Regions from separate parts of the Homo sapiens genome. Here all the other regions are linked to region 1. Evidence: promoter capture Hi-C in 16 types of primary human blood cells and fetal thymus (Javierre and others, 2016). All regions are on one chromosome and are shown on one strand. Each heading gives the region's core, a stretch centred on a gene start or on the middle of the fragment in contact. The rest is flanking DNA. Distances are from core to core; before and after follow the strand shown.

The links. Contacts are between HindIII fragments. The CHiCAGO score rates a contact against its expected background, and 5 or more counts as called.
Region 2: a contact is called between a fragment that was not itself captured here and the fragment with the promoter of CMAS in region 1, in 3 of 17 cell types (monocytes, erythroblasts and M2 macrophages). The highest score is 5.7, in monocytes.
Region 3: a contact is called between a fragment that was not itself captured here and the fragment with the promoter of CMAS in region 1, in 1 of 17 cell types (activated CD4 T cells). The highest score is 6.2, in activated CD4 T cells.
Region 4: a fragment that was not itself captured here is called in contact with the fragment with the promoter of CMAS in region 1 in 1 of 17 cell types (total CD4 T cells); the score reaches 5.4 in total CD4 T cells.
Region 5: a fragment that was not itself captured here is called in contact with the fragment with the promoter of CMAS in region 1 in 1 of 17 cell types (erythroblasts); the score reaches 5.7 in erythroblasts.
Region 6: a fragment that was not itself captured here is called in contact with the fragment with the promoter of CMAS in region 1 in 13 of 17 cell types (non-activated CD4 T cells, erythroblasts, total CD4 T cells and 10 more); the score reaches 14.2 in non-activated CD4 T cells.
Region 7: a contact is called between a fragment that was not itself captured here and the fragment with the promoter of CMAS in region 1, in 2 of 17 cell types (activated CD4 T cells and total B cells). The highest score is 8.2, in activated CD4 T cells.

What each region holds. Positions count from the first base shown.
Region 1 is chr12:22,044,847-22,047,684 of GRCh38, forward strand. It overlaps CMAS (cytidine monophosphate N-acetylneuraminic acid synthetase), which reads left to right and starts at 1,372. Exons shown (of 8, transcript NM_018686.6): 1 at 1,372-1,717. The coding sequence starts at 1,458. RefSeq lists enhancers at 1,189-1,483, 1,799-2,504 and silencers at 1,256-1,625, 1,269-1,496. The HindIII fragment of the contact is 10,395 bases long and covers 1-2,838 here.
Region 2 is chr12:22,687,915-22,690,752 of GRCh38, forward strand. It overlaps ETNK1 (ethanolamine kinase 1), which reads left to right. Exons shown (of 8, transcript NM_018638.5): 8 at 1-2,751. Among named protein-coding and RNA genes, the nearest start is that of LINC02955, 11 kb to the right of the region's middle. The HindIII fragment of the contact is 1,513 bases long and covers 691-2,203 here.
Region 3 is chr12:22,666,265-22,669,102 of GRCh38, forward strand. The region is part of intron 4 of ETNK1 (ethanolamine kinase 1); the gene reads left to right. Among named protein-coding and RNA genes, the nearest start is that of LINC02955, 32 kb to the right of the region's middle. The HindIII fragment of the contact is 1,651 bases long and covers 630-2,280 here.
Region 4 is chr12:21,427,930-21,430,767 of GRCh38, forward strand. No RefSeq gene overlaps it. Among named protein-coding and RNA genes, the nearest start is that of PYROXD1, 8.3 kb to the right of the region's middle. The HindIII fragment of the contact is 1,573 bases long and covers 603-2,175 here.
Region 5 is chr12:22,649,300-22,652,137 of GRCh38, forward strand. All of the region lies in intron 2 of ETNK1 (ethanolamine kinase 1), which reads left to right. Among named protein-coding and RNA genes, the nearest start is that of ETNK1, 26 kb to the left of the region's middle. The HindIII fragment of the contact is 1,255 bases long and covers 854-2,108 here.
Region 6 is chr12:22,628,066-22,630,903 of GRCh38, forward strand. All of the region lies in intron 1 of ETNK1 (ethanolamine kinase 1), which reads left to right. Among named protein-coding and RNA genes, the nearest start is that of ETNK1, 4.3 kb to the left of the region's middle. The HindIII fragment of the contact is 1,989 bases long and covers 400-2,388 here.
Region 7 is chr12:22,606,895-22,609,732 of GRCh38, forward strand. ETNK1-DT (ETNK1 divergent transcript) reads right to left here. Exons shown (of 4, transcript NR_135030.1): 2 at 2,689-2,838. Among named protein-coding and RNA genes, the nearest start is that of ETNK1-DT, 17 kb to the right of the region's middle. The HindIII fragment of the contact is 166 bases long and covers 1,395-1,560 here.

The DNA.
Region 1 (2,838 bases), core at 122-2,621:
CTGAAAGACAAAATGCATGCTAGGTCAGAGATGCCTGCTTTAAAGTCTCTTTTTTTTTTTTTCCTAAGAGAGGTGTGTGTGGGTGTATGTCTTTGAGCCTCTTGGCTGGATCAGGGTTTAAATGCTCAGGCGTGGCGGCTCATGCCTATAATCCCAGCACTTTGAGAGGCTGAGGCGGGCAGATCACTTGAGGTCAGGAGTTCAAGACCAGCCTGGCCAACCTGGTGAAACCCCCAACTCAACTAAAAATACAAAAATTATCTGGGTGTGGTGGTGCCCCTCTGTAATCCCAGCTACTCAGGACGCTTGAGAATGGGTGGCAGAGGGTTGCAGCGAGCCGAGATTGTGCCACTGCACTCCAGCCTTCTGGGGGACACAGTGAGAATCTGTCTCAAAAAAAAAAAAGAGTTTAAATGATGCCTCCAGAATTCTTTCTCTTTAATCCCTACATGTCATTGTTCTGCTTCCTCAGGGAGAACATCAGTCTTCCAGCCCATTTCAGAACAGCAAAGCCCCCCTGCCGCCCTACCCTACCCTTGCCCTGAGGCTTCAGGTTAACAAGGTCCTTAGCACCCAGTCAGCACGAGAAAGATCCTTTCTTTCCAAGACTCTCTGGAAAGGACTCCAGTGGGCTCTGCTTGGTCATATGCCTGTCCCTAGACCACAGGTGTGTTAAGGAAAATGGGGTGCGTAGATGGACCAGCTTGGGTCACACACAGTGCAGAGAATGTGAGGGAAACCCTCACCGGATGAGAGAGGGATCAATTCCTAAAAGGAAAAGATTTTTAGCAGACAACAAAACAAAACCAAAAAACCAAGTGTCGGCCACACTAGAGGTGACCAGTAAAGCTGACTTCCAAATTTCTGCTGCTAGGGAATGCTGATGTCGATCAAAGTGCGGAGAGCATATGAAAAATGGAGTTTTTAAAACGTTGAGTTTAAGGCGCCTGTAGGATATTTGAATGAGCTGGTCAGTAATTTCTTGGAAAAAATGACCCAGGGGCATTAAAAAAAGGTGTATGTTTAAAATGTACATTTTAAAATATAAAATGGATTCGTGTCAGGGTGCATCAAGGTATGCAACGGGAAACCCACCACAATTCTAAAGTGGGGAAGTTCTTCAGCAATTATAAATACTTTTTTTCTTTTTTAATTTTAGAAATTTACAGACACTTGCAAGCACCCCAAAAGCCGCACTTCCTCCAAATATCTCTGGACTCCCACTGCTTGACTTAGTTTTGGGGTCACCTCATCAGAGCCTACTTGGCCTACTGGCCCCAGACGAGGCGGCCGCGGACTACAATTCCCAGCGAGCACCGCGAGGGGCGGGGGAGGGGGCGGGGCGAGGGACGGCCGCGCGCGCCAGCTGCCAGGCGGGGATCGGGCGGCGCCGAGCTGAGGTGGTGAGGGACTAGCTCCCGGATGTGGAGAAGCTGGGGAGAAGGCGTGGGAGGAAGATGGACTCGGTGGAGAAGGGGGCCGCCACCTCCGTCTCCAACCCGCGGGGGCGACCGTCCCGGGGCCGGCCGCCGAAGCTGCAGCGCAACTCTCGCGGCGGCCAGGGCCGAGGTGTGGAGAAGCCCCCGCACCTGGCAGCCCTAATTCTGGCCCGGGGAGGCAGCAAAGGCATCCCCCTGAAGAACATTAAGCACCTGGCGGGGGTCCCGCTCATTGGCTGGGTCCTGCGTGCGGCCCTGGATTCAGGGGCCTTCCAGAGGTGCGCATGTGCGAGAGTGGGCGGCGCGGCCTGGGCGGGGGTCGGGAGAGGGAGTCGGGCTGCTGGAGGGGCTGGGGCCTCCGGGGCCACCGCTCTTGGAAGGGGGCCATCTCTCATGCCAGGGATGTGCAAGATCCGGGGTGCCTGGGGCCGGGCTGAGAGCCCAGGAGGAAGGGCTCCAGCTCCTTCCTTGTTCCGTAGCTGCCAATGGTCATAACCTGGGACAGTTCCTGTCTCCGCCCTTGAGAATCATCCGTAAAAGGGGAGATTACACCTCCCCAACCGTCCCCTCCTCCCGGGTTGACCTTACGGGGAAAAGTAAAGGAGGCCACCCCGGTGCAACATCTGTGATAATATGTGAACTTCTTTGGATGGGGGCCATCGAAGCTCCCCTGTTGCTCAGCCTCTGATAACTGCTTGGTGCTGCTCGATTAGGGAGGCATCAGGTTCATGAATGGAGTTGAGTGTCGGGGTGTCAGAGCTGAATTTCAAGCTCAGCTTGGAGATCTTTTCCTAACCTTTGAAAAATACTCCAGCTATCTTCCTGTGAGTCAGCACAATCTAGAAAACTCCCTACATTTATAAATACGTGAGACTCAGTGGGAAGGTGTACAACTGACTGTTTTATGATATATTAATACTTACAAATCATTTAATCATACCTTTGGAACCTCGCCTGCCCTATGGACAGTTTTAATTATGCGTAATTTAGATACATTGCCAAATTGGTCAGGAGTTACAAGCTGATGTTATTCATAAAAGAAGGGAGATCGAATTCTGTGCCAAGAATGAATTTACACATATAGCTTCAACCTAACTACATTTGAATGTGTTGTTATTGTGGAAATTAATTTATGTTAACCTTTTGATGTTTCGATTTTTAAAGAGATGACTGTTTTTGAAGTCATCTCTTTTTCTTTTTGAACCTATATTTGCTTACCCATATTAATATATGGGTAAATGATTTTCATTTAACCAGTCTTGTTCAAAAACGGGAGATGCCAAAAAAGTATAAATATACTAATTTTCTTAATGTTTCAACCCAAAAGAAGTCCTGGATGGACCAAGGCAAATAGGAGCCACCACTCAGAAGATAACACTAGTGCAATAGGAAGTGTGCG
Region 2 (2,838 bases), core at 197-2,696, 640 kb after region 1:
TTTGTCGGCTTTGGTTAATGTCAGTACTCATTTATTTAGCCTCTCAGTGCTTAATAAGACTTTTCTTTATTTTTTAGTTAGCCGTTAGGTTTTGTGAGGTTAGATTCCTGGAAGCAGTGAATTTATACACTGTTATATTAATAGAGCTCCGTTCTTTGAGTCATGATTCCAAGCTAAAGGAAATTAAAAATGTAATTTAATAATTTCCTATTTTTAGGGTTGTTAATTTTTTTCTACAAAAAAACCTTGAAATTTTAGATATCCCAATGTGAATCTAATTTCCATATATACAGAAATTAGACAAATAATAAGTCTTTAGTTCAACTTAAGCATATCTCAAATGACTTCTCTAAATTTAAAGTTGATCATGATAGGATCATAAAAGACAGAAAAGACTTAAGTAATCTTGTAATGACAATTATTTCCATTTTTGCTGAACTAAAAATATTTAACTTCATAAATATGTTACTACAGCTTCCAGATTTAAAGAAAAAAAGTTTCCCCCACTCTCAATTAAAAGTTAGAACCCTCCACTTTTAAAATTATACAAATATTTCTTTTTTACATTACACAGAAGCCTTCTGTACCATTTTACGAATTTCTGTCTTCATAATATAAGTGAAAATACTGTCATTTCAATTTTCTGCTTTAAATTGTTTTTAATAAGCATTCCAAAGTGATACAGACTTAAGCTTTTAATCAATCAGTCATTCAGTTGATAGACAAAGTTAGCGATGCTTTATGCTAGGAAACTTGTTGACAGTAACCTGTGCGACTTTATGCAGAAGACAAATGCTAGTAATTATTATGCACAGAGGAAAAATCATTTTAAGTATGTGGTAAAGCAGCTTCATCTTTCAAAATTGATTTGCTCTGGTTTTTCTTTAGTCCATTAGATTCCAGAATGTCCTTTTACTGGGAATTTAGTTATGTATTAAGATAACCTGTTTTCAGTTCTTTTTGAAAAGAAGACATTATTTATATTGAACCACCTTATTTTAAAATTTTTAACTTTTATATACCACTTGTGTGATTCCAGTGTCATGTCTTGGGTTTGATGTCGTTGGACAGAAAAGTGTATCAATTATTTTAAATGAATTTTTCCCCATGTTTGAGGCTTAGTCTGTAAATGTGTTGCTGTAACAGAAAATACTTGGGTATGCATTACTTGAATACTTGAAAACTGAAATTAATAAGATGTATTACATAATGAATTAGATTTCTCTGAACAGTTTTTACACTGAAAATCTTCATTTCTGGATTGCAGTTTGAAATGGAATGAAGACCTGAATTATTTGGGTAGAAAAAATTATGATAGTGCTTATAAGAACTGTAAACTGTTTTAAACTATTTTGTGTTTGACGCATCAAACTTCAAGTTTTTTGTAAGTTTCTCTCCTGAAATTTTCTTTCTCTTCTATACTTTATGCACTTACTATACTACTGATGTAATAAAAGAGCAGGGTTAAAAATATTGTATCTGTATTCATTGTGAATCCTGTAGCTTTTCTAGTTAACAAAAAATCGCTTTCTAAAATACTCTTAATCCCATTGTTTTGGTTAACATCTTACCCATTTGTTGTATTTCAAATGCCATTAATCATTTTAGTACAACACCTATGTTTATAAAAATTTGAAAACATTACATATTGTATTTAAAACTAATTAGTGAAGAGTAAGAAAAAAACTAGCCAACAGAATTGTAGGTGATGCATTAGTTAAATTTCAAAACTCATAATAAAGGAACTTTCAGAGATTGGTTGAAACCCAGTGGTATCCCTGTAAATTAGCTCCTGTGACTGGAAAAGACCCCAAAAAGGCAGTAGAGGAGATTAGTGTTTACTTGCTGTGGTTGTGGTGTGCTGCTACTTAATTATAGGTAGTGACACACTGAAATTCTTATTTGTCCAATAATCTGAAGTAGTTTCCTATATTTATCTGTACTAAATTGACTATAAATTGAGTCTGCAAAGAGGAAACTTTTTGACTGTACTGTATTTAGGAGCCTTTGTACAGCTTGGTCAAATTTCCATGATATGAAGTATTTGAGTTTTAAAATATACTGTTATTAAAAGGAAAAAGACATGGCCATTATTCCATGTGCTTAAATGATAATTTCCTTATTCAGTTTCAGAAGAAAAAGAATGAAATTGGGTAACTGTCATTGCGTTAGCTTTATGTTGAATTGGGAAATTGTGGCATAAAGCTTAAATTCGTGTTTATCAAATGTGAACCATAGTAGTATAATGCTGCTTTGTATATAATGTAAGTGCTACAAATAGTCTCAGCACTGAAAATGTATTGATACCTCTTAAATGAATGCAACTTTTGATGTAGGTGTTTTGCTATGCCTCAGAAAATATCTGTCTGAGAATTTGTTAATCTGTTTGATAATGAAGATACTTCCTGTTTTCTTGTTTCATATTTTCATGTTCAAAATTTAAGTTTTACATTTTTACTACTGTTAATTTAAATAAAATTTGTTCTGTGGATAAAATGAGGTTGGCAGTGAAGAAAATTAAAAACAGCCTCATTCATGTAACTGGTTAAGTAAAAATACATTTTCACTATGTGTTCATAAACTTTTAATGAAGCTGTTTGTCTTTCAGTTCAAATATAAGTGATGTTTAGGCTTTATTTCTGTTAATAAGGCTTTTTACCATTGATTAAATGAAGGAATGTATCTTTTTGAAGAGATTTATATTCTGTAAATAAAAATTCGTTGTAACAATAAAGTTGAGTTCTAACTACAGTGTATTCATAAATTTTATTGTTACTTCAACTTATTTTTGAGGTTTTCCTTGTGAATATCTGCAAACACAAGACTTTCCAAAGTTAG
Region 3 (2,838 bases), core at 205-2,704, 620 kb after region 1:
AAAGGTAAGAAAAGAATACTTAATGATATGGTGATAGAATTTGATATATAATAAGGAAACCAAAAGCAGCAGTTCTTGCTCCAGAACTATAGGAATTATCAGTCATCTTTTAAATCAATCATTAATTTAATAGACTTTATATTAAGCAGAATAAATTGTAATATTGCCTATGACTAACTTCAAATCTAATATTTTAATTTCAACTAATCATTTAACTACTGACATCAAGAAATTACTAAAGCTGTTGAGATTTCTATCTCATGTCTTGATGTTCTCTCAGAATGTTTATTGGTCTCATGACTTTTGGTGACTTTCATTTCTCCTGCTGTCCCCATTTCTTCATAAAAGCTCATGTAAATACCTAATATTTAACTTTAAATTTCAGTAATGGCAATCACTGTTTATTTTCTCTGTCAGCACAATACAAGAAGCTGATTTACAGCTGTTTAAGGAAATACAAATGAGTGGAAGAAAAGGAAAGCTTTTTCTGGGAATTAAAGAGTAAATCAGGTTTTGTTTTATTTTGCTTTGTTTTAAGAGTTCTATACAATATAAATAGAAAATGGGTGAGTCCCCATAGTCACTTGTTTGGCTCTAAATCTTATCCATTCTATTATTACTCCTGAGAAAGCTTTGTAGTTGTCATGTTACTCATGTTTTAATGACTGAGAAGAGTTTTTTCATTGGTACTTTTAAAAAATTTAAATAAATACAAATTGATTTTTGTGTTTGGTAAACTATGTTTTCTAGGGTGGTGTTTTTAAATGTAGTTTAATTTTTAACTCTGTTTTAATTTGTATTCTCAACCACTAGTTAGCAGAAAATAAAATATCTGTAAGTCAGATAATAAAAAACTTAAATGAACTGTAAAAACCTGAAGTTATGAAGAAAGAGTGACCTAATATAGGTACTAGTTTGTTTGTTTTTTCATTCATTCATTCTGGCCCACTGTGTTCAGTCTTGTACTTGAATAAAAATGTCAGAAACACCACACTTTTTTCTTTAGTTTTTCATGCTTTTTTGTCTTTTCCCCTCCCCCAGCAAACGTGTTATTGTGTGTCAGCATTTTCTGCAAACTTCATTTTTTCTACTAGCATTTAAATATTTCCTGTGTCCTAGGGATTGCTCTGTGGATTGCAGGATAAAAGAGGGAAGGGACCCTAGTGCCCCTCCAGGAGGCTGTGTATCTTGTAGTGGAGGAGTCCAATCACTGAACAGATACTTACATTTAGAATGATGAGTGCTCTGGTGAAGGGGTACAGAGTACTACAGGACACCAGCGTGAAGATTAAAGGGAAAGTGTTTCAGACTAGAATACTCCCTGTCTTTTTCTGTATAAAATAGAAAACATTTTGCTAACATTAGTAGGATTATAGTTACTTTTCGTATCGTTCTCTTCGAACCTGCCTAACATTGCAGAGCAAGTAGGGTGAGTTGGAAAGATTTTTCAGGTTCTCATATTGACTATTTTGCTTTTCATTTTTATTCCTTTCTCCTAACAACAAAATAAAGGAATTCAGACAAACATGTCATGTGATAATTATATAGCCTTGGGTAATACATTATTATTTTTTAGTTTTAAAGTACTTTAAAAATTGGCAGAGTATTTTTAGTATACTAAGATTTGAACAGTTTAACCAGTAGTGTCGGGATTTGATTACGCTGATAAAGATATGCAAGAAATAAAGTAATAAAAGACAAAATGTAGGTTTGGAAAATTCAAATTGTAGTTTTATCCATTAATCATATACTTTACTTTGTGCTTGTCATTGTGATAATTACATAAAGATAAATAAAATAACACACCTAGCCCTTAAAGTAGTAGTTCTTTACTTTTTAAAGGTCAGGGGTCCCTTGAGAATCTGAAAAATTGAGAATCTCTTCCTAAGAAAGTGCACATACACATAAAATTTTAGGGAATATTCTAGTTGTCTTTTCATCCTTGAAACCCCAATTAAAAATTCATGTCTTAAAGAACTGAGATGATGATCATGCTATATGAGCTAGTTAATTATTAATGCTGATGTGGATATTCGTTTAAATAAAGCGAAATTTTAGAAATCAGAAGTTAAATTTATAGAAGGAAAAAGTATATTTTCTGTTGTTAGGAAAGCATTTTCCAGTAATTTGATTTTTCTGGCACCCTAACTAAGGGAAGTTGGCTTTTTAAATTTTACTTTGTTGCAGAAGATTAAATTTAAGGTTGAGTTCCACTTTGTTTGCAATAGTTTGAAAAAGAATAGTTAATGCAGATTTTTTTTTTAAATTTTTTTCCTTTTAAGCTTTGTGTCTTGTACAATGTGAGTTTGCCAAATTTTCTTCATCTGCTACAGATTAGGTATGCCATTGTTGCTGCCATGTGGCGGCGCACCCCGTGCTTCTTAAACGCACTGACTGGAGGTTTATCGCATCACTTGTTCACATGCACGGAGCCTGGTAACAGCCTCATCTGTATCTTGTTAGCTTCATTTTCTTATTTTTAAAATTTCATTATTTATAAACTCAACATAGCATTTAAAAATAAAGGCTAGTTTTAATTAATTAATGTTACTACAAAAAGTCATTGCTAAAATTTTCATAGTGAAACAGATTTTAACTTTTGTTAAAATGTGCTATGCTTTAATTAAATTGTATTTACTCTACAAGCAGGGATGTTTTACCTGCCATTTTAACTGTATTTGCCAAATTCTAAATATAATTTTGAAAATTGAAATTGAAGCTTATGTTTATGTGGCAAAAGTAAGCTTCAGGACTGGGCTGTGTATTTTTATTGGCATGTAACAGTTAATATGAGCTCTACAAGAATTTGTTTTTAAGGAGCTAAAGCTATCAACAGCT
Region 4 (2,838 bases), core at 139-2,638, 620 kb before region 1:
ACAAGTGTTTTTGGATGGCACATTGTCAATTCAAACAAAATTGGGGTTCCTTTAGTAAGAAAGCAGGGAATAATGAATATTTGATAGGCAAGTAGGAGTAAATGTACTGATAAAGGACATATAGAAAGAGAAGAAAATTTGGTAAAGAAGATGGCTTTGAGAAACAACTACATTTAGGGGCAGGTAAAAAAAAAAAGAATAATCACAGGAAAGAGAAAAAAAGTAACCAAAGAAGTAAAACAAAAATAGGAATATTGTCAAAAAGTAATTCATGTTTTTGCAATATAATTAGATCTGTAAAATGTTTTGACTTATTTCTCAATTACCTTTGAATATAAGGAAGGTAATTACATTATGAATCCATAAGTCATGACCATCTGACAATTGACATTAACATTCCTCTTCAACAGGTTACATTAATAAATACAGAAAAGCATAGTGTCCGTTCCTGAGGCAGACGGCTGGGGCAAAAGAAAGTTCTTTACAGACATCTGATGCTGTAACTATTAGTCAACTGACAAAAATTTAGATAATTTCAAATCACAACACAGCCAGCTGATGTGTCCATTTAAATAAATATTTCTTCTTATTGAGAAAAAAAAAGCTTTTTCCTTTGTGAATGCAATTTCACGGCCAAAAGAATAACTATTTTTGTTGTTATATCAAATATGTTTTCTTAACTGCTCTTTTGCTAAATGTAATCTACGCACTAAATGGCCTGACTTGAATCAAGCCAGAAATTTTTTAGACTTGTATCTCCAAAGTTTGAAGATGAAATGAGAATGTTTCTTTTCCTTTGTAGCTTGCTGCTTTTGGTCAAGCATTCTCAATGTCCACCATTGTTAGCATAAATAAACTGAGTAAAGATATTTTGACAGCTAAAACTTTAAAATCTCATGTAAACTTGAATATATTTTCAAAATTAAAAGGGAAAATTTACTTAAATGTTCATATACATATGTTTGGGGTTAGTTTAAACTTAAAAAAATTAATGTGTACTGCAATAATATTTGAAACAACAAATGTGTTTCATTTTTCTTTCTAAAAGAAGTAAAATTAAGAGATAAAAAATCTTTAATTTCGGTACTGTCCGTCAACTGAAATAAATTAGCCACATTCGATACCATAATTTAACATTTTACTCATTACGAATAAATTATGCTGTACTTTCTTTGCATCTTAATTTATTTTTTAGAAATCACAAGTTATTTTAATCAACAAAAATAGGAGTAGAAAGTGTTGCTTCTTCCTTTTTCTTTAGTATAATAACTAGCCTGAAAACAGTTTTTTTTTTTTTTAATTTTTTTTGAGACAGGGTCTCACTCTGTCACCTAAGCTGGAGTGAAATGGTACAATCATAGCTCACTGCAGCCTTGCCCTCCTGGGCTAAGGTGATCCTCCCATCTCAGCTTCTGGAGTAGCTGAGACCACAGGCATGCACCACCATGCCTGGCTAATTTTGTGTTTTTTATAGAGACGAACTTTTGCCATATTGCCGAGTTTGGTCTCAAACTCCTGGACTCAAGCGATCCACCAGTCTCAGCCTCCCTCCCAAAGTGTTGAAATTACAGGTGTGAACCACCATATCTGGCCTGATTTTATTTAATTATGAAAAAAAAATCTGAATTTCCCTGATCTTCAATGTAACTGATGTTAAAATGTTACCTGATGTATTAAATAGAAAATAATTAAGCCTCAGATCATTAAATAATAATTCTTTCAACTGCTGTCACAATTATTTTATATATGGAAATCATAGCAATTAATGAATGAATGCCATGAAACATAAGTACTAATGTTTTATTCAAAAACAGCATGAAAGTTATAAATCTATTTCTTTATAAAGGATACAGAAAAGTACATGCAAATTATACTATTTCGTACTATGAAGGACATCTTTTAGAAGTTTTCATCATGATTCAAAAGTTATAGAAACGAGGTGCGGATAATAAAAAAGGTTTTATATTTGGCTTTGGAATTTGTGTACTTACAACTTAATAAGAGTATTTCCTGTTGATATGGTTTGAAACTTAAATTGAAATATGAAGCTCCATGGTACCGCTTGTGAAGAGCTTAGAAATTTTATAAACCGAGTAAACAGCATTGGAAACCCAGCAGGAAAGCCTCTTATTGTAATAAAGAGCCTGATTCCATTGTTGATGTTTGACTGCTGGAAGCTTTCAGGCCTCACGACTCCCCTGTCCCTTGCTGCCCCACATCTGGGCAGTCTGAGAAGGTTTCAGTATGCCCCTCCCTTGGTGCCCACGTGATTTTCAAGCCATACAAGGACTGGCCTGTATGTGCCAGAACTCTCACCCCAGCTCGATCACCTAATCTCATTAAAAACAGGGCCTGTCACCCTTCTCTGCTCTCCAAGCTATTTTTGGATCAGCTTATAATCCTGTCCTATTCTCCCCAGAAAGCCTCATTATGTAAGTAATAAGCCTTTTCATTCCCTCATGGGGTGAGTGTGTGTGTGTGTGTGTGTGTGTGTGTGTATGTGTGTGTGATCATTAATCTTCACATCCAAATCAAATTTTGGATGGGGGTTCCTTCCTGATACTGTGAGTTCCTTCCTGATACTGTGGGGTGACTGTAACATTTATCTACCTAGAACAACAGAACAACCTGGTCTCAAAATATCATATCAAACTATTGAGAAAGGAACAGCAGTATCTCATAAGGCAAATTCATGTTTCACAATTGTAGATTCAGCCATACTATGAAGCCTCGGTCTTTATAAGATTGTGCTTACTATGTTAATTATAAAGACTTAAGAAACATTTATTGAATAAATATTACTTAAATTGCTGTGCTAAGTGCTGGGATTAGGGCCAC
Region 5 (2,838 bases), core at 231-2,730, 600 kb after region 1:
TCATCTACATTTTCTCCTATGTTATCTTCTCATGGAATTTTAGTTTTGGATTTTACATTTAGGTCTGTAATCCATTTTGACAGAATTTTAATGAAGAGTGTAAGGTCTATGTCTAGATTCATGTTTTTGCACGTGAAGGTCCAGTTGTTCAGCACAATTTATTGAAAAGTCTATCTTTTCTCCATTATATTTCCTATGCTCCTTTTCAAAAATCAGTTGACTGTATTTATATGGGTCTGTTTCTGGGTTCTCTATTCTGTTTCTTCATCTGTTTGTCTAATCTTTTGCAGATATCACACTACCTTAATTGCTATAGCTTTATGGTAAGTCTTGAAATCAGGTAGTGTTAGTCCTCCAACTTGTTCTTGTCTTTCAATATTGTGTTGGCTATTCTGGGCCTTTTGCTTCTCCTTATAAACTTTAGTTTTTACATTTTAAAATGGACTTTTTAAGAATTTATTTTTAATTGACAAATAATAATTGTGTATATTTGGGATACAGTATACATGTAAACTTTAGAATCAGTTTTTCAATATCACAAAATAACTTGCTGGGATTTTGATAGGAATTGCACTGAATCTGTATATCAAATTGGGAAGAACTGACATCTTGGCAGTATTGAGTCTTTTTATCCGTGAACATGGAATATCTCTTATTTAGTTATTTGGTTTCTTTTATCAGAGTTTTATAGTCTTCCTCATATAAATCTTGTACATAGTTTGTTAGATTTATACCTAAGTATTGTATTTTTGGGGGTGTTACTGTAAAAGGAGTGCATTTTATTTTCAATTTTCACATATTCATTACTGGTATGTAGGAAAGCAATTGACTTTCATATTTTTTTAATCCTGCAAGCTTGCTATAATTGCTCATTCCGCGAGGTTTTTTTGGTCCATTCTTTTGGATTTTCTCCATAGAAAATCATGTTATCTATGAACAAAGACAGTTTTTTTTTTTTCTTACCTCTTATTTTTTTTCTTGTCTTAATGTGTTAGCTAGGACTTTCAGTACAGTGTTAAAAAGGATTGGTGAAAAGTGATGTTCTTTCTTTATTCCTGATCTTAGTGGGAAATCTTCAAATTACGTGTCATTAAGTAGGATGTTAGCTGTAGTTTTTTTTGTAGATATTCTTTATCAGATTGAAGATACTCTCTCTTTATTCCTAGTTTGCTGAGTTTTTATGATAATGAGTGCTAGATTTTGCAAAATGCTTTTTCTGCACATGTCGATAGGTTCATGTGATTTTTCTTTTTTAGTCTGTTAATGTATTGGATTACATTAATGAATTTTCAAATATTGAACCAGCCTTGTATACCTGAGATAATCCCACTTGGTCACAGTGTATAATTTCTTTTTATATATTGTTGGATTTGATTTGCTTGTGTTTTGTGTCAGCAAATATATTATATAAAAAATAAACATTTAAAAATAATCTTTTAAATAAATAGGAAATATAAAAATGTAGCATTTTCTGTTGTATATAATATTTGCTAGCAGAAAACAATTGAGGTATACTTGATTAAAGTGTTTTTAAGAATTCTTTTTCAATGAGCATTTTATTTAGTTAATAAAAATTTGATTTGTTTATAGTTGTTCTGAAAAAATTTGATTATGGTAAATGCTACATAAAATTTACCATTGAAGCAGCATTTTTATCTGGGGTAATACCTGAGGTTGGTTGTTCCACAACTACAGAAAACTAGGATACAGACAACCAGAGTGAGGTTAAGAGTGGAAGTTTAATAGGCAAAAGAAAGAGAAGAGCTCTCTGTGCAGAGAGGGGTCCCAGAGAAAATGGGTTGCCAGTTCTGTGGTGTAATGTACAGGGTTTTATAGATTAACTTGAGGAGGCAGTGTTTGATTTGCAGAGGGCACGGAAGATTGGTCGGACCAGGCGTGCCTTTTGCATAAAGCATGTAGAAGCTGGTGGCCCCACTTTAATCTTTTATTATGCAGATGGTTCTCTACTTGGCCAGTGCCATGTTGCCTGCCTCTTTTACTAGACACATGGTGACAAAGAAAAGGGAAGATGAAGGCTCCGTTGTGAACATACCTGACTTCCAGGTAGCCCTTTTCTACTGGCACAGCTGCTGGCATTCACTCATGCAAGCTTCTAGCTTGCTTATCTATGTCTGCAGCTTGAATTTTCAGGCTGCTCTTTGTTAGAAGTGATTTGGGGGCTGCTTTCTATTAAAAGGGAGTCCTTACCGAGAACTCCTTTACCCTCACTATCTGCCTAAATCATTTCTTTCTGGCTCCAGTTGTCACCATCTTAACCATTTTTTAAAAAATACAGCTCAATAGTGTTATTGCATTCACATGGTTGTGCAACTAATTTCCTAACATATTTTTTTTTTATAATGTAAAACTACAATTCTATCCCTTTTTTTTTTTTTTTTTTTTGAGACAGAGTCTCGCCATGTCGCCCAGCCTGGTGTGCAGTGGTGCCTCCCAGGTTCAAGTGCAATCTCTGCCTCCCAGGTTCAAGTGATTCTCCTGCATCAGCCTCTCGAGTAGCTGGGACTATAGGTGCCCACCACCTCGCCCTGCCGAGTTTTGTATTTTTTAGTAGAGACGGGTTTCACCATGTTGGCCAGGCTGGTCTCGAACTCCAGACCTCAGGTGATCTGCCCACCTCGGCCTCCCAAAATGCTGGGATTACAGGCGTGAGCCACCACGCCTGGCCAATTCTATGCTTTTTAAACAACAAATCTTCTTTCCTTCCTCCAGCCCCTGGCAACCGTCATCTACTTTCTATCCCTAGGAATTTGACTACTTAGGTACATCATGTTAGTGGAATCATGTAATGTTTGTCTTTTTGTGACTGGCTTATTTCAC
Region 6 (2,838 bases), core at 144-2,643, 580 kb after region 1:
AGCAGAATAGGCAGAGTAAATCTAAAACAACAATACAGCCACAGTGCTTTGTATTTAATAATCCTTTACTGTTTATAAAGCACTTTCACATGCATTCTCCCAACTATCCTGTGAGGTAGATGTAGACGGTACTGTTAATATGTATCATATAGTTAATGAAACTGAATTTGCCGTTTACAAATGGCAGATCTGAGATGATAAACCATCTTATGAATTATTGTTCTATGACCAAGAGTTTTGTTTGTATATTATGATTTAGGCAGGGAAGGTGCTTCTGTATAAAATTAATTTCTTAAAAGCTTTGGCTCATAAAAAGATTCTGCTTTAAAGTTCCCTTGAACATAAATTTGCATTACTTTTTTCATATGTGACACCATTTTAGGAAAAAGGGATTACTTAAGCTTTCCTTCACGAGTTACTTTTGTTGTGTAACAACTGTTTAACTTATTTGAAGATTTTGATTTTTAATTTTTATACTTTTCTTTGGAGAGTCATCGTATAAAGGAATAAAGAATCAAGTCAGATCTCAGGTCCATAATAATTCTCAACGGACTCTTAAAATTGTTTTTCATTTTCTGAAGAGCTGATGAATTAGTGTTTGGAATATTCCAGTTATGTTGTCTCAGGGTCTTTCTGTTTGCAGTATTAAGCAACGTTGTTTTTCTCACTAACTTGTCACTATGAATTTTTCCATTACTTGGGACTTATAGTAGATAATGGCAAAGGCTTCATAGGTAGGAATTAATACCGTAATTATTATTTAACATTACAAAACTAATATATTTATTCCTTTGTTGGGTCTAAATGAGATTGCTTGCTATATGGTACCTTATAGCAACTTAGCTTTTCAATAACAGTGTGTTACAGTGCTCAAGAGCATGGGGTTTGAACACAGTGCTAGTTTTGAGTCCAGATTCTATACTTTACTAGCTTTGTTACTCTGGTCAAATCATTAAACTTCCTGTCTCAGTATCCTGAGCTGTAAAATTGATCCAGTAGTTGTCCCTACCTCAATGGGTTATTGTGAGGGTAAAATAAATGCTGTCTTTCATGATAATTATTATTGCTGCTGAGCACCTACTATATATTGGATACTTGAATCAAAAAACAAATATTTGCTCTTTGAAATTCCTAGTCCGATGGGGAAGACAAATAAGAAAATTATAACAACGTAATGTTTATGGAATGAACATTCAAATTTAGTTCACATGCAAAGATTACCCAAGAAGTTTAAAAAATGTACTGTTCTTTCTGCTTTACTACAGGTTTTTGCCTGTTATTGAATGCATATTTTAAAAAATCTTTTCATCATTTTTTTAAGCATATGTATTCTATCATGGAAATTAATCTTTGTGTTAGGTTGTGTAGCTACACAGCAGTTTTCATATCCTTCCTCTTTCTAACAGTGTTGGAGGTAGTTACCTAAATAATCTATTAAAAACCTGTAACTCCTCTTAATATTGATAGTTGATATTTTATATTGGTCTTTGCCTTAAAGGAAGAAGAAAAAGCCAGATCTATACAATTGCTGTGTTAAGTTATGTCTCCACTAGTGTTCTGATATAATAATTGATTTTCTTTTCTGTTTTTAAAAAGATGAGTTTGTTCCTTTAAGCAGTAGCTTCTGAAAAGTCTTAGGTAAGCTAATGTAGTAAGTTACGGCTAATTTTTTAATATATTAAAAAAGTAAACAATATATTAGTTTACTTTCCCTAAGATTATAGGAAATCTTGAGTCCTGTAGATACAAATAAGGAGTCATGGTTTATATTCAGTGTAACTTTTAATGTTAGTGATTACATCCAGTTTTCTGTTTCCTATTCCCTCCCTGTCTTCAGCATTTTAGAATAATAAAGTATATAATGTTTAATAGACGCCCATCAAAAACATGAAATATTTGTTAGGCTCCCATGTATTTTATTAAGATGTGACTATGAAGACAGGAGCCTAAAGTGCTAGTTTGTTTTCCTGTATAATAGCCATGTAACTTGGACTACACAAACTGCGTCACATCTTTTTGGGGACTGAGCATAATGTGGAAAGAGGATGGTTTTTGAATATTATTTCCAGCCATTTATAACCTTTGGCAAGTTTTAAAGTCTCTATAAAATGGTATTACCTTGGAAAGTAGTCATGAGAATTCAATGAAATACCTACAATTACGCATCGCATGTTTTGGTACTACGTTCTTCCACCTCTCATTTCCAATTCTCCCATCCCAACTGAGAGAATTGTGAGCTCCTAAAATTCAGTAATTCTGACATGTGTTTTTTGTACTAGCTGTAATGCTAGTTTTCAGTAAGAGTCCTTGTACAACTAACTGTAGCACAAGGTAGGCATAGAAGAACGTAGGACAGAAGGCTTCATAGAGGTGGGGGTACCTGAGCTAAGCTTTGAAGGGTAGATGAGATCAGATTGAAAAGGGAAACATTTCTGAGCAAGGAAAACTATCTCACAAAGGCAATGAAGCTAGACTTTGAGTAGCTTACTCATCATTTAGGACATCATGGGAAGCCACTGGATATTTTTCTTTTTGTATTTTATTTTATTTTATTTTATTTTTTTTGAGACAGAGTCTCGCTGTAGCCCAGGCTGGAGTGCAGTGGTGTGATCTCAGCTCACTGCAACCTCCGTTTCCCAGGTTCAAGTGATTCTCGTGCCTCAGCCACCCAAGTAGCTTGGATTACAGATGTGCGCCACCATGCTCAGCTAATTTTTGTATTTTTAGTAGAGTCGGGGTTTCACCATGTTGGCCAGGCTGGTCTCGAATGCCTGACCTCAAGTGATCCACCCACCTCGGCCTCCCAAAATACTGGGATTACAGGCATGAGCCACCGCA
Region 7 (2,838 bases), core at 228-2,727, 560 kb after region 1:
ATTTGCCAATTTACAATAAAAATACTGATTTATGTTGTTTATGTCTAACAATGACTTCTACCTTCCCAAATCCCTTTCTGGGCATAAATATAGATATATATGTGCATACATATGTATTTTTTAATTTTAGTTTTTTAACTTGAAAACACATATGTACGGTTTGATCACCTTATTTTGTTTTTCATTTCAATGGATACTTTTTGTGACTACATTTTAATTTATTGACTGCCTAAGTTTATGGGGCCTGGGTAACACAAATTTCTTGTTTCCCACTTAGTATTTAGGTTATTTTTAAAATTTCAGTGTTCATGTAGCTCAGACCTATAGAATTAGCTGAAAATACTTAAGAAAAACAGGAAAACCATCTGAAAAATTCCAAAACAGACAAAAATTATTAAAGATGCATAATGATTGAGAAATTGGTAAATGGAGCATCATGTGTAAAAGTTAATTACTGAGAATGGGTTTTGACCACTTTGTCATTTAGACTAATCACCATTTGGATTAAATTATTTTTAACGAAACCATGTGGAGCTAATGTTATTTGTAATTATTGCTGAGTAGAAAAAAGACACTATTTGTTTCTTTTTACATTTTAATATTTTATAATTTAAAAAATGAGCATATACCAAAGAAGAAAAAGTTCTTGCACATCTTTATTCCTGAGTAACTTACTCTTTATGCTGCATATGCCTATGCAATCTTTTTTTTTTTTTTGAAAAAATATTTTCCCCCAAACTGGTTATTGGTGGCACAACAGAATCCCATTTATATTTGCATATTCTATTATAGCTGAGGTAGCCTTGGCTAAGCTGAGAGATTGATTTTCTGGAGACTGCTCTTCCCATTTCCCCTCCCTGCAGGTTTTTGTTTTTGTTTTTGAGACACAGTGCAGTGGTGCTATCCCAGCAAACTGCAACCTCTACCTCCCAGGCTCAAACAATCCTCCCACCTCAGTCTCCCAAGTAGCTGGGACTACAGGTGCAAGCCACCATATCTGGCTAATTTTTGTATTTTTTGTGGAGACGGGGTTTTGCCACATTGCCCAGGCTGGTCTCGAACTCCTGAGCTCAGGTCATCCGCTCACCTCCTCGGCCTCCCAAAATGCTACGATCATAGGCATGAGCCACTGCACCCAGCCCTGATATTTTTTTAAATGTTAAACACAGTGCTTATTTTCTCTTGCCCTATTCTGATAATAAAAAAATTTCTGATTTAGCAGTAGCCCGTTTTTGTATATACTTTTCTTATCAATAAATTTGAAAATAGTATTAATATATGCATAGTTTGGATATTTGTCCCCAGCTAAATCTCATGTTGAAATATAATCTCCAGTGCTGGAGGTGAGGCCTGGTGGCAGGTGTTTGGACCATGGGAATGGATCCCTCATGAAAAGCTTAGGCCATCCCATTGGTGATAGGTCAGTTCTTGCTTTAAATTCACTCGAGATCTGGTCATTTAAAAGTGTGTGGCACCTCCTCACTCTACTCTCTTTCTCACTTTCACCTGCTTTCACCATGTGATGTGCCTGGTCCCCCTCCACCTTCCACCATGATTGTAAGCTTGGTGAGGCCTCCCTAGAAGCTGAGCAGATGCCAGCACCATGCTTCCTGTAAAGCCTACATAACTGTGAGCCAATGAAATCTCATTTATTTATAAATTACCCAAGCTCAAGTATTTCTTTATAGTAATGCAAGAATGGCCTAATACAATATATTTTAAATTTCCTTTTGACTCAGTTTTTACTTAGAAGAATTCATTTGCTTCATAATATTTGGTCCTTCTTTTCACCCTCAGGTTGATAATTTTGGTTTTTTATGATTTGTCATGTGTACTGCTTTTATCATTTATTATTTTGTGATAAACTCATGAGATAACTAACATTAAAGGAGGCAATTTGTATCTATCTAAATACATAAGTTTTGTATTCCTTTTATAGTTAATTAGGACATCTTATATTATTTAGGTTTTTCTACCACTCTGCCTCTTCCCCTTCCCCACCTTCCTTTTTATTTTTTCCATCTGAAGGTCTGTGTTTGGACACCTCTTACATATTTGTTTCAGACATACGGTTTTGGGTCAAGAAGGTGTACCTCAGTTTGGCAATTAACTGTTTCTAAACACTGACTCAGAGGTGTATGAGTGGGTAGAAACTCCTACTGTTTTTTTTGTAAAATGTCTCATCCTTGTCTCCTATAAGTATATTAAAAATCCCTTGGACTGATCCTTAAATAGACCCATTTAGTAAATTTCAGCAGCAATAGCACTGTGAACCAGTTGGATAGATTTCCAGTCAATTTTCTAATTTATAATACTGGATTCTAAACCATATGGTTTTAATGTGTTGACAAAAAGAAAGAATCACATCTTACCACAGTTCAAATATATTAAATCCAATGTTTCCTCATTATCACTAATGGTCTAACACTATCATAAAAGTTTACTAATTGGTACAGTAGGCTTTATTCTTTTAAAGCCATCAGGATTTTGCCTCACTGTACTTTAAACTCTTGTGGATGGTTATTACTGGATTTCTTGACAATCTGTCGTCTAGTGGTTACTGGCATCCTGGTTTATCTTGCCAGTTTACAATTAATAGGGCTACATTCTGCCTGTTTTTATAAACAAACAAACAAACAAACAAACAAAAAACACACACAAAAAAACCACGCTAGTATTTCACTTAACTCTTTAGCAATCGTCAGAGTCTTCACAACCAGAAGTCCTCCAAATCCATCAATCTCCCTGTGTCTGCAATGGTTTTAGGTGACTTGCAGACATTATCTCTTAGCCTCCAGTCACTGTATCACTCCTCATTCCTTGCTAGCGCTGTCTTTC